2 separate regions of the Homo sapiens genome follow, and region 2 is linked to region 1. The links are contacts of gene promoters, found by promoter capture Hi-C in blood cells and fetal thymus (Javierre and others, 2016). All regions are on one chromosome and are shown on one strand. Each heading gives the region's core, a stretch centred on a gene start or on the middle of the fragment in contact. The rest is flanking DNA. Distances are from core to core; before and after follow the strand shown. Region 1 holds the start of TULP4 (TUB like protein 4). Region 2 overlaps TMEM181 (transmembrane protein 181).

Region 1 (5,117 bases), core at 1,293-3,792:
CAAGCAAAACTTTGCAAGAAATTACCAATCACGCTCTTCTTTAAAACACAATGCCTAACACTTAAGTATTGCTCAATAAATGTTGGTTGCATGAATTTCATAATCCCACTGCTTATATTTTAGAAGCCCAGAGGAATCTACATGTACAAATATATGGCATAATAGCCTCAATATAATATACCCTATACATGTGAAAAACTATGGTTTTTGTCCATTAACTACTTCTTTACCTCCAAGTACGAAAACATACAAGCCAAGTGTTAAGCCATCACCAAAGGAACGTAGATGTTAACCGTGCAAGGTAAAGGCAGCACCACTTTCATTTTTCACACTGTCAGTGGGACATCAGGGGTGGGGGTAACTCTTTGCCATGTAGACTTGGAGCACGAAAAGTTGGTTAGGATCATCTAATTTAACCCCCCACCCTGGTTAGAAAGCGCCCTGGCCTCCCTACTGCTGGGCGTCTTCCCACTGCCCGGACCCTCTAAGAGAGACAGTGCAGGGAGAGGACAGCAGGGGTGCCAGGGACAACTGACCCACCTGGGGAGGCGCAGCCTACTGTGAACTATGTCCATCTTAGCATCTTTTCTGCCAGAGAATAAGAGACAGAACTCACAGCATGGGAAGTCTCACTAGGCAGCAAGTCTATGAAACTGAAATGAAGGAAGTTTCAAGTCCACAAGGGGCTCAAAAACACCACTGGAAGTGACCAAAAAGTGAAACAAAACCACAGCTCACCTCGCTATTGTGGCCCCGGAGGTTGAAATTTATCCTCTGTGGAGTACTCCTGTCCCTGCGACAGTGACTAGAGGTGAAAGTCACCCCAACCACTCCTCGCCCGTTGCCCGTGGCCAGCCAGCCTTCCTCATAGTAGCGTCTCCTGCACACAGGCTTCTCCTTCTCACTCTTGGGGACACGCCCCTTCCAGGACAGGCACAGGATGTTGGAATCGCTGCAAAGCACAGGCCCATGTTCCACTGCTGCATACATACTTTCTTCAATGAACTGTTTTACTTAAAAAGTAATGTTAATGCTGTGAAATTTAAACCAATTTCTTTCATTGGTATATGTGTTTTTGTGGTTGGCTTGCGTTGCTTTTTTCCCCCTTTAATTAAGACTGACCTGAATCTAATTAGAAGGTCAGTATTTTATAAAGATCCACCGAATGCATAGTGAAAAAATTCCTCTATAAAAGATGATGGCAGTCTTCTAAGAAAAGGTAATGCTTAAAAAAACATGGGGTCCATTTGTATTTTCAAGTTCTCAGAGGAAGAACGTGCTGATCCTTTGGAGAAAGAGCATCGTTAATTAAGTGGTGATCAAGAAACGGTTTTCTTCTTTTTACTCCACTTGGTTATTCTCATTCAGCCTGAGATTCCAGTTTAGTGTAATATGATTCCAGAGACAAAGGGTTGCAAATACATAGATTTCAAGTAACTTAAGGCTTTAAGAATCCCTCTAGCTCGAATTTTTCTCTTCAAAAGTTCGGATGCAGAGACAGAATACACAGGATCATCTTCCTTCTGAAGCCACCCTCTAGCATGTTTCCTGAACTAGACAAATTTCTGCTGCTAAAGCTGAAAAAGATTGCATAAAGGGAAAAAAAGGCACACAAACCGTGCAAAACAGACCAGAGTTTGTGCAGACAAGAGTCCAAATTTTAGGAAGAAAAACAGACTCTCTCCTTGTTGTTTCAGAACCAGAAACTTTCCACCTCAAAGCTTGGCCCTGTGTCCCCGGGGAACGCAGGGCTCCATCGGACTGCTCCTCCACCAGCCGGCGCACCCCTCAGTGCCATAGAGGCTAGAAAGAAGGCCCCTTCACTCAAGAGGCAGAATGTTCCAGCGCTCTTACAGTGGTCCCAGTGTTTGCCCTGGGTGAGTCTTAAATCCTCTTGCTGACAAAACAGAGCCACGTGGCAAGATTTTGTTTCTTTTGCTCGTCTCCCTTCTCGCTCCCCCAGTTAGCACTCCCCTTTTCTGCTCCTAAAGATCTTTTTCCATCTTGATGAAAAAAGCTAATCTTAGAATTAAGTCCATCAGGTAATCTTCTCATACGCAAGTCTTCTTGGACTTGACAGGGAAGTTAATCCCTTAAAACAAAAGCAGAAGCCAGAGTCAGATTCCCCCAGCTGTCTCCCTAGAGAGTGATAGTGTTTTGCTGATGGGTGCTTTCCTGTTCACATTCAGAGACTGTCTCCAAACACCACACCACTAGTCCAACAAAAAGAAAGCTTTGCTTGGATTTTCCTTGATATTTATTTAATAATTATTGGTTTCAATTGCTATTTTACAATATTATCCTATAGATGCAGGAAAAAAGGGGGGGAATAATAAATTAAAATTTCTCAAATACAGTTAATTAAGATAGGCAAAGGAATCAGTTCATTATTCAAACTTGTCCCATCATACTTGAACTTGCTTTCCTCTAGCCATAACCACAGTAGGAGTTACTTTTCAGTCTAGAATTTTAATCCGTCCAAATCACCAAACCCACTGAAAAATAAAGTGCAACAAACACTGTGTGAGCCGCTGCAATGTTTGAAATCACACTTCTTTCTCAGTCACCTTCTCACTTAGTTCCTTCTTTAAACTGGAGAATATTTTTGTGGTTTAATCTGCGCAAATTTTTTTTTCTTCTTTTTGCAGACTTTCTTTACCCGTGCAGACCATATGGAAAACTGGCCATTAGTGATGTATTTTTCTCCCCGGGCTCCTGAGCCCACTGGTGTCAAGTTGCTCCATCTGATTCTTAAATTAATTTTCATCAGTTGTAAAACTCTCAAGTGTGCACAAGAATGAGCCTGTCTTCCCGTGTGAATGTGTAAGTACAGAAAGAAGGTTTTAAATGCACATAGACACACACTCTTCAACTGCCATACGAAGCGTCTGCTTCCCCAGTCATTTCAGGAACCATCAGATTATTCACGGCTGGGAGGCCCTGGAGTCTTACAAATCTGTTTAAAAAAAAAAAAAGATATAAAATTTAAAAACTTTAAAACACTGGAAAATAAAGGTTTTAAGAATAATTGCTGAAACTGAAATGAGAGACCCATCTTTACACTTACATCAAATGGAGCTACTGACTGCACTGAATGGTAAAATCCAATAGTGAAAGGATACACCTCACCAGACTCAAGACAACACACAACAAATGAGAGTTCTGCCTGCCACTGATCGTTGTATTCAATTTGTCAGCAGCTGGGCACATCTGAATGAAATCATAACTGCCATTCTTCCACACTGAACTGTACTTTCTAAGAGACTGAACTCCGAATGTGAGACTCTACCCCTCCAGAGACCATGGTCGCTGTTTAAGCAGGCATCCTCAAAAAGGAGACTGAAATGACTCAGGCAAGTTATCTGGATTGATTTTTTCACGATTAATAAAAGATATTCCCTCAAGACACAAAGCAGTAAGGGCCTTTAAAACTCATTCGTCCCTGATGGCTGGCAGGTCTCGGAGCAAAGCGCAGCTGTTTTCTAAGCTTTTATGTGGTCTACCAGCAATAAAGTTCTAGAGAATCTGTCTCTAGCAAATCCATTCCATCTTCTTCCTACTGCCTGAAGTCCAGGCTGCATCACATCCTCTACAAACACGAGAACACTCTGTCCCTAACTTACTCATCCTCCCTGCCCTCCCGCCCCGCCAGTCCTTCCAGAAAGCAGAGTGGACTTTCTCAAATTCAGCAGACTCTCTCAGTCTCCTGGGGCAGCTGAAGCGGCCCAGCCCCATCCCACAGGAACTGGACACTGAAAGGGAAGGGAAGGGCCCAGGTGTTCGCATTTCTAATAAGCTCCCAAGAGATGCTAATGCTGCTGGGCAGGGAACCAGGCTTTGAGAACTACTGGCCTGTAGCATCAAGTCCCAGCAAAAGACTCTACTTTCATCATAATACTAGGACATAATTTGCCTTCTTCCGTGTTCACATTTGTACCCATGGTGCAAAATCAACAGTGGGTCAAACTGCAAGCTCTTTAACACTAATCAAGGTAGAGGTACCAACTGCACCAGTAGTCATAGATTAAAAAAAAGAAAGAAAAAAAAAGCCAGCCTCACTTAAGAACATCTTTGATACGGCAGTAAAAATTATTAATTTTATTAAATATCAGCCCTTGAGTACATGGTTTTTAATACCCTTGTGTCCCAAAATAGTAGGTACACATAAAGTACTTCTGTGGACTACTGAAGCACCATGGTAGTCCCAGGAAAAAGCATGTATTATACAGTTTAAGTTGCAAAATGAACTGCTTGCTTTTTTCATGGAATACCATGTGACATGGTTTGAATGTTTGGCCCCTCCAAATCTCATGCTGAAACGTAACCCCCAGTGTTAGAGGTGGGGCCTGGTGGGAGGTGTTTGGATCATGGGGGCAGTCCCTCATGAATGTCTTGGTGCTGTCTTCTGACAGTGAGTGAACTCTCACGATACCTGGTTGTTTAAAAGAATGTAGCACCAGGAGTTCGAGACCAGCCTGGCCAACATGGTGAAACCCTGTCTCTACTAAAAATACAAAAATTACCTGAGCATGGTGGTGGGCACCTGTAATCCCAACTACTCAGGAGGCTGAGGCAGAAGAATTGCTTGAAACCGAAAGGCAGAGGTTGCGGTGAGCCAAGATCGCACCACTGCACTCCAGCCTGGGCGAAAGAGAAAAACTCCGTCTCAAAAAAAAAAAAAAAAAAAAAGTGTAGCACCTCCCACCTCTCTTGCTGCTCCCGCTCTAGCTATGTGACATGCTAGTTCCTTGTCACCTTCTGCCATGTTTGTAAGCTTCCTGAGGCCTCACCAGAAACAGATGCCAGCACCATGCTTCCTGTAAAGCCTGCAGAGCCATGAGCCAATTAAAACAATTTTCTTTATAAATTACCCAGTCTCAGGTATTCCTTATAGTAATGCAAATGGGCTAATACCCCAAGTTTACTAAAAAGTATGAATGACAAATTATGGTTGTTCCAGCTGGGATATTTGGCCGACATTTTCTTGAACATGAACAAAGTAAGCCTGCCACTTTAAGGAAAACAACTAACAGAATTTGTTGTTGAAAATAAAAACTGAGCTCCCTCTCCCTCTCCCCCTCCCCCTCCCCCTCTCCCTCTCCCCACGGTCTCCCTCT
Region 2 (5,344 bases), core at 1,299-3,798, 290 kb before region 1:
TTTCTTTTCAAACACCTCCCTGAAGAAGGTGTGTTAGGCCCATGGAATAAGTTTCTTTAAACTGCTTTAAAACATTATATAACATAATTTTTAGGCCAGGGTTTTGTTGTTGATTGTTTTCGTATAATCTGATATAAGCCAACAGTTTTCTAGGCAATGTGGGTTTCCTTGCCTAGGGACCATCTTCCCTCTTTTTAAGAACATACTTGGGGCCCTGAGTAATAAATAGCTCTTTGGACTCCAGAGTGTGGCAGGAGAATCTCAGGGCATCAGAGAGCCTTTGAGAAGAAGCAAGTGTTTCTGGCTGCCCAGACACAAATAACAGCTTTCTACTTTCATTTATGAAGCTCACTGCGGGAGCCCTGAGATCCTGGAGGCCCTGGGCTGGGCGTAAGCACCACAACCTGCAGCTCCCTGTGGCTCTAGCGCCCACGCCCTTCCCTCCAGCTCCCTGTGGCTCTAGCGCCCACGCCCTTCCCTCCAGCTCCCTGTGGCTCTAGCGCCCACGCCCCTCCCTCCAGCTCCCTGTGGCTCTAGCGCCCACGCCCTTCCCTCCAGCTCCCTGTGGCTCTAGCGCCCACGCCCTTCGCTCCAGCAGAGCACCCCCTCACATGTGCACGCGCCTGTGTCCTTCCATGCACAGTTACTCTGAAAAATACCAAGTGTTCCTGGGTGGACACATTTCCTAAATGTCACCTCCCCACCATCCCGCACAAGGACAAGCAGCTGATGCAGGCAGAACGCCACACTTCGGGCGGCAACAGATCACTAAATGAAGCACACTTTCCCTTCCTCCAATTTACCAATTCTTATCTTTGCAGACTGGGGCTCTGGGGGGGCTCCCTTGGGCTTCTCAGGGTAAGCATTTCCCCCAAAGTCATGTGGGTTTGTGGACACAAACCTCAGATCCCAAACGAGCCCAATGCCTGCATTTCCAAAACACTTCTCTTTGGCCTTATTCCTGAAAATGCCCAAAAACGCAAAGGACTGGCACAACTATAAAAATATAAAATATAAAAACCCAAGAGCATGCTGCATCTGCACTCAGAGAAGCTCATTCAAGTAAGGCAGCTTCCTTCCACACAGGTGAAATGGCACTTTTCACCGCACATGATCAACATTTACTTAAAAGTCACGGACGTGCACTCTACAGAAATCCTGAATACATGATACCACATCATTTTTTCTTGCACGGCAGCATCTCGGCAGACACACAGAGTTGTAATATCAGCACAGCCCACTGGATGGAGCATCTGAGTTCAGATCAATCTCCATGTGGCTTGCACCGAAGATCCTAACTGCATAAACCAGCTTCTTCCTGGCTGGGATCTGCTGCGGTCCATCAGGCGAATGGTACTCACAGTGACGATGAAGGTGAGCACCACAAAGAAAAACCGGAACCAGATTTCCAACCGGGAGAAGGCAGGGTTATAAGTCTTCCACTAAAATAGAAAGTGGAGAAAACAATTTGAAAAAAATATATATGCATCTAAGAGAAAATACACCAGATTACTAATAGTTATCTCTAGATGAGACAATATATACACATACACACACACACACACACACACACACACTTTTTTTTTTTTTTTTTGGATATGGAGTCTCGCTCTATCGCCCAGGCCGGAGTGAAGTGGCGCAATCTTCGCTCACTGCAACCTCCGCCTCCCAGGTTCAATCACTTCTCCTACCTCAGCCTCCTGAGTAGCTGGGATTACAGGTGCCTGCCACCATGCAGGTTAAAATTTTGGAACATCCTACATGTTCCAAAATTTTAACATTTAGTACAGTTTACTTTTTTATCAAAGGACACAGACATAAAAAAATCTTAATTACCAAGAGCGAAAAATAATTTCAAATGTTGTTACATGGATAAATCCGACAAATTATTTTATAATCATAAAAGCATTCGGATCTTATATCTCACATCAAAAATCAAGCTTGTCAATCTCTTTATTAGAAATAGTCATACTTTCCATCAAAAGAAAGTTTTAAAAGATGTAAAAGTGCAACTAGAATGTTGTTACAAAGTTTAAGTAAAACCTTTAAGTATGAATGTGAAAGCAGAAGAGTGAGCTGCAGTTGAAGGAGTCCGTTCTCATGCTGACTGGACAGTCCCACGTGTGCCAAGTGTGCACTGATGGAGCCGAGGACAGGGGCACTGCTGCTGACAGCAGAGCAGAGGCTAGCCACCACCAACCTAAGCACGAGCCAGGTCCATAACCAGACCCCAGAACACTGTGCTCACAGGGCCAGAGAGCCCCATCATTCTGATGCATTGAATTAAAGTCATCTGAGCAATTTAAAAAATCCACTTCAGTACAAATAGAGTTACAGATTTACCTAAAACATCACGCACACACACACACACACGCATGCACGCATGCACAAGGATGATTTAAGACACTGGACCTGAGGAAGCAATGAAGGGTAGTAACCTCTGACTGATGGGAAACAACAAGGGGTGCCCCTGGTGGCCCCACATCATGGAGGGGAACCCAGGCAGAGCCACGGCTGGGAGTCCAGGGAGACAGGGCTGGCCCGAATCCACAGGACAGAGTGCTGGAAAGGAGAGCTGTACAGAGAGAGAACGAACCTCCCAAAAAGCCAGTGCCTGGCACCCACAAGACAGAGAAGAAACTCACCATCAAAGGGCATTGGGTAGCATATGCTGAATGCTTTTGCCTCAGCGTTAGGAAAAAATAAGCCTCAAGACTTCATGCTGCTTTGGCCCCACCTAGCAATGTTGAAAAGCAAGGCCAGAAAAGATCAAACCATTTCCAAGGAAATTAACAACGTCCCAGAACAAAGCTCAGGGATATTTATAAGATATAAAACCTAGCAATCAATAATGTCTGGCATTGAACCAAAAGTACCAGACACACCAAAAAGCAGGAAAATACAAACCATATGAGGAAAAAAACAACGAATCAAAACTGGCCCAGAAATCACAGATGACAAAATTAGCAGATAAGGAAATAAAGCAGCTAGATGAAAGATTTTTGTGTTAAATAAAGACTTGGAAGATGATCAACAGATTAGACACGACAGAGATTGGTAAATGTGAAGGCACAGCAATAGAAGCTATCTAAAATAAAACTAAAAAAAAAAAAAAAAAAACCTGAAAAAAAATCAACATAGCATCGGGAAGCTTTGGACAACTTCAAGTGGCCTAATACAGGGGTCCCCAGGCCACAGACCAATACTGGCCACGTGGCCTGTCAGCAACCGGGCCATACAGCAGCAGATGAGCAGTGGGCCAGCGAGCATTACCGCCTGAGCTCTTCAGGTCGGCCAGGGCATTAGATTCTCACAGAAGCACGAACCTGCTGTCAACTGTGCAGGCGAGGGATCTAGGCTGCACGCTCCTTACGAGAATCTAATGATAAATGAAATGCCCTTGAGTCGTCCCCAAATCATCCCCAACCAACCCTGGTCCATGGAAAAATTGTCTTCCACAAAACCAGTCCCCGATGCCAAAAAGGCTGGGGACCACTGGCCTACTGGCCTAATTTGGGGTTCCTGAATTTGGGAGGTCAGGGGACCAGAAGGACAAAAAAAGTATTTGAAGAGATAATGGCCAAAATGTTTCCGATTTGATGAAAACTATCAACTCACAAATCCAAGAAGCTCAATGGCCAAGCACAAGAAACGAGGAAAAGTACAAGAAGCACCGTGAGAGAAAAATCTTAAAAGGGGGTGGGGAGAGGGAAGAACATTATTACATTAGACGAAGATAAGGACAAAGATAAGGTGGACATCAGATTTCTTGTCAGAAAAATGCAAGCCGGAAGACAGTGACCAACATTTTCAAAGTATGTAAATTAGGCCAGGTGCAGTGGCTCACACCTGTAATCCCAACACTTTGGGAGGCTGAGGTGGGAGGCTAGTTTGAGGCCAGGAGTTTGAGGTGAGCCTGGTCAACAGAGCAAGATCCTGTCTCTACAAAAATAAAAAATAAAAAAATTAGCCAGCATGGTGGCGTGCGCCTGTATTCACAGCTACTCAGGAGGCCAGGGTCAGTGAGCCATGATCATCTCACTGCACTCTAGCCTAGGCGACAGAGCAAGGTCCCATCTCAAAAAAAAAAAAGTACATAAATTAAAACTGCAATGTAAAACCATTAAATACCATTATACACCGATTAGAACAGCCAAAATTCAAAAGACTGACCGTACCGAGCATTGACGGGATATGAAGTAACTGAAACCCTCACACGCTACTGGTGTAACATAAAGTAACACAACCACTCTGCAGAACAGTTTGTGAGTTTCTTAACCACATGGCCCAACCATTCCATTTCTAGCATTTATCCAAGAGAAATGAAAGCATATGTCCACACAAAGCTTTATACACAGATGTTCATCGCTGCTTTCTTTGTGACAGCCCCAAACTGGAAGTAATTCAAATGTCCATCAACAGGTGAATGAATAAACAATTTCTGTTACATTTATACTAGAATATCACTATGGACACACTCATCATCGATCAAGCTCAAAATAATTATGCTACGTGAAACAATTCATATTGGAGAAGTACATATTGTATAATTCCAGTTACATAAAATTCTCAAAAAAATGCAAATAACAGATCAGTGACTTCCCAGGGATGGGAAAGGACAGGAGGAAGGGGCACAAGAAGATGTTTAGGGGTGATGGCTGGTGAGGGGATGCTTATGATCTTGATTGTGGGAACGGCTTCCCAGGTTTCACTGTGTGTCAACTATACCTCAATAAAGCTGCCAAACAAAAACCAACCACTAACAATAGATGGTAATGGGCAAGTGGAGATCACAGTGATTCAGGTTCAAATTCCAGCTCCTGCCATTAATAGTTGGGCAAATGACTTAATCTCAAGAAACTTCAGATTTTCCTCCATAAAATGGGGATGCTAGTAACCTACTTCACATAATTTTTGTATCCTTTTAGCCTTGTTTTTTTTTTTTTTTTTCTGAGACAGTCTTGCTCTGCCACCCAGGCTGGGCTGCAGTGGCGGGATCTCGGCTCACTGCAACCTCCGTCTCCCAGGTTCAAGCGATTCTCCTGCCTCAGCCTCCCAAGCAGCTGGGACTACAGGTGCACGCCACCACTCTCAGCTAATTTTTGTATTTTTAGTCGAGACGGGGCTTCATCATATTGGCCAGGCTGGTCTTGAACTCCTGACCTTGTGATCCACCTGCCTCAGCCTCCCGAAGTGCTGGGATTACAGGTGTGAGCCATTGCACCTGGCCCTCTCCTGGGTTCAAGCGATTCTCCTGCTTCAGCCTCCTGAGTAGCTGGGATTACAGGCATGTGCCACCATGCCCGGCTAATTCTGATTTTTAGCAGAGACAAAGTTTCACTAT

Evidence for each region. Contacts are between HindIII fragments. The CHiCAGO score rates a contact against its expected background, and 5 or more counts as called.
Region 2: a contact is called between a fragment that was not itself captured here and the fragment with the promoter of TULP4 in region 1, in 1 of 17 cell types (endothelial precursors). The highest score is 5.2, in endothelial precursors.

The regions. Positions count from the first base shown.
Region 1 is chr6:158,309,890-158,315,006 of GRCh38, reverse strand. It overlaps TULP4 (TUB like protein 4), which reads right to left and starts at 2,542. Exons shown (of 14, transcript NM_020245.5): 1 at 739-2,542. The coding sequence starts at 990. RefSeq lists an enhancer at 839-918. The HindIII fragment of the contact is 1,254 bases long and covers 2,236-3,489 here.
Region 2 is chr6:158,601,365-158,606,708 of GRCh38, reverse strand. It overlaps TMEM181 (transmembrane protein 181), which reads right to left. Exons shown (of 17, transcript NM_001376852.1): 7 at 1,362-1,442. Among named protein-coding and RNA genes, the nearest start is that of MIR7161, 5.7 kb to the left of the region's middle. The HindIII fragment of the contact is 1,211 bases long and covers 1,943-3,153 here.